Linked DNA regions of Homo sapiens: region 2 is linked to region 1. The links are contacts of gene promoters, found by promoter capture Hi-C in human tissues and cell types (Jung and others, 2019). All regions are on one chromosome and are shown on one strand. Each heading gives the region's core, a stretch centred on a gene start or on the middle of the fragment in contact. The rest is flanking DNA. Distances are from core to core; before and after follow the strand shown.

Region 1 (2,527 bases), core at 21-2,520:
TGAAGGAGCTGAGGCACGAGGTTTTAATGCGGGCATGTGGTCGCCAGAATTTGAATAGCAACTTCCCTAAGGAAACGCCCTATTTAGACTCTAGGGGAGAGGAGGATCCCAGGAGGAGTCCGCCAGCAGAAGCTCAGAGTCTGGCCTGGGGGCATTTAGTTATGCCACGCCCTTTCTCTACTGTTCCCTCCCGCGACAGGGGCCTGACAGGGAGTGGGGCTTCGGGCCAGCGTCTCGGCCGGACGCAGGGACTTCAGAAGAGGCAAATACAAAGCTCCGCATGGCAGAGGAACAGAGGGGCGCGGGGGAACGCGGTCCAAAGGTGGACCTTGTCGGCCCCTGGGCACTGCAAGCCTCGAGGCGCTGCGAGCGGTGAGGCTGTTGCAAGCTCCCGCGGCGCGCGCAAACTGCGTGGAACTACTTCCCCGGGGCGGCTTCGGGGCCGGGGTCCCGGCAACAGCCTCACGGGGCGCCGTGCGGGGCCCGAAGCCAGTTGCCAGCTCCCGGGCGCGGCCACGTGCGCCCCGCCGGGCTTGCACGCTCCGCCGCGCCGGGCCGCGGGGCCACCGACAGGCACGCGCGCCCCCAGCGCGCACACACTCCCGGGCACGCACACCGACCGCCCGGCCCACGTCCGCCACGCCCCGCCTTCCCCCGCGCCCCGCCTCCGCCCTCGCGGCGCCGGCCGCCGCCCTCCCATTGGCCGCACGGCGCGTGACGCGCGGCGCCAGGCCCCGCCCCTCGTCAGTCACTCGGCGGAGGCGGCGCTGGCGGGGACTAGTCTCGTCCGGAGACTGTGATGGATTTAACCAGGTGGGGAGGGAGGGAGGGCGCGAGCTTGGGAGTGGAGAGGGAAGGAGCCGGCCCACTCCCCGTCGCCGGCCTCGGGCTGCCCCTGCGCGCCCCCTCCAGATCCGGCCCGCGGCTCCCCTCCCGGCCCCCCCAGCCCCACGCTCAAGTCCACAAGTCCGCCCGCTTCCTGCGCCCGCCGCGGCCCTTCCCGGGGCGCCGCCGCCACCGCCTGGTGTGCGAGGCTATCCGGCCCGGGCCCGGGGCTTGCAGGGTGCCAGTGGGGGCGCCCGGTTCCCTTCCTCGCTCTCTCTTCCAGTCCCCGGAAAGGGTGGGTGGGTGGTCTCCCGAGCGAAGTTTCCAGCACTGGATTCCTGCGAAATTACGACGGCTCACCCGCGTCTGTGTTTTGCTGTCTCTCCCCCGTTTTCCTGCTCCCTGCCTCTTCCCTCCCTTTTCCCCCACTCTCCACTCCTCGGAAGGCCAAAAAGACAAGCGAAACCTGCCGCAGACGAAGGGTTTTGGGATTGTAGCGTCTGCACCTTCAGAAACAGTGCTGAAGCCTTTAAATGCAGCATCTGCGATGTGAGGAAAGGCACCTCCACCAGGTACTTGAAGATCTGTGTTACCTTTTGTTAAAGGACTTTTTTTTTTTTTTTTTAAGTGAGAGGGTAGTGAGCCTTACTTTCTGCCCTTTTTCCAACTTGTTGATTACGGCTTTTTTTGTATTTGCGGGTGGGTTGTGTGTGTTTTTGGGTTGAGTGTATTAAGTGTTGGGTGAAAAGCCTTGTGTTCGCTAAATGATTTATGGGAGGGAATTTTTCCAGGTTTTCATTTTATTTCAAACGGACACTGGATTTATTTGACACTTGTGTCTATTGGCTTATTGGTATTGGCTGGGGAAGAGAGGAAGCAGTACTATCGCTATGGATTGTAGGACATAGATGTTTTATATTTTTGCCATGTGTAGAATGGTTTTAATTTGCCTGTCCCGAGTTACTTTTCTCTTGTCTGAGAAATTTAGTGGGGGTAGTAAGGCTGGCTGTGCTTTTCCTGTCTTGAGCTGCAAATGTCTGTTACTTTCTTGCACTTGAAAATAAATGTCGGTATTTGATAAAGTAAGTGCATTTTGTGGGAGACTGAGCTGTCAGTTTTTTTTTTCTTTGACTAGCTTATGTGGGGTGGTGATGGGGGACGATTTTGTAAAATGGTGAAATGAGCAGTGACTGTGGAAGTTTGTGTTTAAAGCTCTGTGATGATGAAAAGAATGTTGAAAGAATTCCTTTTCATTTTGATGAAGGTCGTAAACTGCATGTGATGTTAAAACGAGTTAACTACTTTAGATTTAACATTCATAAATACTTGGATAAAATGTCAAGACTCATGTAGTCTTTTGGTCATCTTTTAATTTATGTCTGAATTTGTTTCATTGGCGTTAGAGTTTGAAGTTAAACTGTTCTTGGTGTCATTTAATGAACAGGCATTGGGTGTGTGTGTGAGACAAGAATGAGTTTTTGGTGGATCCTTTAGAACATTACAGTTGATTGCCAAAAGTCTCATTTTATCAGGTACTTATTTTTGAATTGGTGACATTTCAGTGTGACTGTGTAGTAGTACTTCACAGTTCCAACTGGATATTGTTCTTTGATTAGATGAATATGTCATGTTAAGGTTTCATTGGTTTATTTATACTTGGGATTAAATAGGATTATTGGGCAACCTAAAATAATCTAACTCT
Region 2 (2,527 bases), core at 18-2,517, 1.4 Mb after region 1:
AGGCTTAAGATGGAAATAAGAACTTCTAAAAGAATTTGAAAAATACCCTACTTACCAAAAAAGCTTAAATCATTTCCTCTGAAAGTTTCCTTCCATCTAAGGTTTGCTTCGGTTCCACAGACCAGCCTCCTCCTGTCCTCAATCTGAGGGGGAGGAACGTGACCTTCAGTTTCCGCTGATACTGATTTTAGGGTCCCACAAGGGTCTCTGTACTTGCCCTCCCTCTTAGAGACACAGACTGGCACATCCTGGTTTTCTTTTTTTTCTTTTTTTGAGATGGAGCCTCCTTCTGTCACCCAGGCTGGAGTGCAGTGATGCCATCTTGCTCACTGCAACCTCCTCCCTAACTCACCAGGTTCAAGCGATTCTCCTGCCTCAGCCTCCCGAGTAGCTGGGATTACAGGCGTGCACCACCATGCCCAGCTAATTTTGTTTTTTTTTGTTTTTTGTTTTTTTTCTGAGACAGAGTCTCTCACTCTGTCGCCCAGGCTGGAGTGCAGTGGTGCGATCTCAGCTCACTACAACCTCCACCTCCTGGGTTCAAGCGATTCTTCTGCCTCAGCCTCCCAAGTAGCTGGGACTACAGGCGTGTGCCACCATGCCCGGCTAATTTTTGTATTTTTAGTAGAGACGGGGTTTCACCATGTTGGCCAGGCTGGTCTCAAACTCCTGACCTCAAGTGATCTGCCTGCCTCGGCCTCCCAAAGTGCTGGAATTACAGGCGTGAGTCATGGCACTCAGCCTACATCGTGATTTTCCTGTTGGCTTTTGTAAAAGCCAGATCCTTGAACTTTGTTTCTTATTTCCAAATGTTGATTACAGTTGTGTTTCTCATACCTCTCTCCCAGCTGTGAAGTTTATTGGTCTTTGTTTTATTAATAATTCTATAATTGAGAATTATATTTTATTTTAGACTCATAATGTCATAGCATTACATTCATTGGTTGAATATGTTAACTGGTTAGGAAAAAGCTTGGGGTTACCCTTAATCTTGAGCTTGAGATATTGATGAGACAATTAAGCTTAATTTGGTAACTCTTTGGAGTAGATAGACCCAAATTCTAAAAACCATCATTTACCATCTCTGGGACCTTGTCCAAGTAAAGCTCAGTTTTTTTTTTGTTTGTTTGTTTTGTTTTGTTTTGTTTTGTTTTGTTTTGAGACGGAGTCTTGCTCTGTCACCCAGGCTGGCATGCAGTGGTGCGATCTCGGCTCACTACAACCTCCGCCTCCCGGGTTCAAGCACTTCTGCCTCAGCCTCCCAAGTAGCTGGGATTACTGGCATGTGCCACCATGCCCAGCTCATTTTATTTGTATTTTTAGTAGAGACGGGGTTTCTTCATGTTGGTCAGGCTGGTCTCGAACTCCTGACCTCAGGTGATCCACCCACCTTGGCCTCCCAAAGTGCTGGGGTTACAGACGTGAGCCACCGTGCCTGGGCTAAAGCTCACTTTTGAGCTTCTATAAAGTAGAAATGTCTACCCAGCAGATTAATTCAGAGGATTAATTTAAGAATACACACACACACACACACACACACACACACACACAGAATCTGGCACCTGTAGCTCAAAATGTTACCTGCCCTTCTTATAGCTGTTGTTCTGATCATTATATTATGATGATGTTGGTTTGGGTTATTACTTGTGAGATCCTACAGTGGTCTGGACACACAAAAAATTGAATTTTATATAATACTGAGGCTTTCTGATGGTAGTAGATGGGCAGAGAGTGGCAGTTGTCAACCCCCTATGCATTTCAGAGCGAAGTGCATTTAGAATGGCCATACCTATGTTATCATATACCTATGTTATCGTCTCTGAATCTTTGATATATGCCAGATGGGTTGCAAATTCTACAGTGAATTGTTCACTTCTGTAGGTCTTCTGTGCAGGACCCTAGCTCTCCTGTAATGGCAGTGCAACTGCTGAGAAGAAAAGACAGAGTGCAATGATCATGCTTCCCCACTCTGACCCCCTCCTAGTTCTTCCCTGCACTCTTAAGGAGGCAGTTGCACAGTTATTTTTTATTTGACATTATAGTTACATATATGCAAAGAAGATCAGGGAGTATGCTCATTTTATTGTGTCTTGATGTGTTGGGAAGGGAAGCATGGATTATAAAATTATCTTTTCATCAAGCCTTCTAGTTAGAGTTGACTTGCTTCTCCTGGGGACTGAGTAATTTGTTACTCTTCATTGCCCTGTTACTTTTTCCCCCCAAGGGTGGTTCTCCTCACACCTGCAGGAGACTTGTTCTTTCACTTCTGTATTATCACATTACATACTGCACTTATGAAAAACGGGGCAAATGTTTTCTAACAGCCATCGTGACAACTCTGTTACAAACAGGGAGGTACTGTTTAGTTGAAAAACATGGGAATATCCAAGAAAAATGTGAAAGAAGCTTAGAAAATGAAATTTCTTGAAAATAGGAATCGAGAGATTTGTTTTATGATGGGAGCAAGGTTGAAGAAAGTAAGGAATTGATTCCCCATTAGAGATTGCAAACTGATGGCCCGCAGGCT

The links. Contacts are between HindIII fragments. The study calls those that stand out against the background at their distance.
Region 2: a contact is called between a fragment that was not itself captured here and the fragment with the promoter of RYBP in region 1, in 1 of the 25 tissues and cell types used here (spleen).

Annotation. Positions count from the first base shown.
Region 1 is chr3:72,445,366-72,447,892 of GRCh38, reverse strand. RYBP (RING1 and YY1 binding protein) reads left to right here and starts at 1,270. Exons shown (of 4, transcript NM_012234.7): 1 at 1,270-1,397. The coding sequence starts at 1,270. RefSeq lists silencers at 424-833, 894-953. The HindIII fragment of the contact is 22,535 bases long and covers 1-2,527 here.
Region 2 is chr3:71,090,122-71,092,648 of GRCh38, reverse strand. The region is part of intron 7 of FOXP1 (forkhead box P1); the gene reads left to right. Among named protein-coding and RNA genes, the nearest start is that of FOXP1-AS1, 200 kb to the left of the region's middle. The HindIII fragment of the contact is 4,370 bases long and covers 1-2,527 here.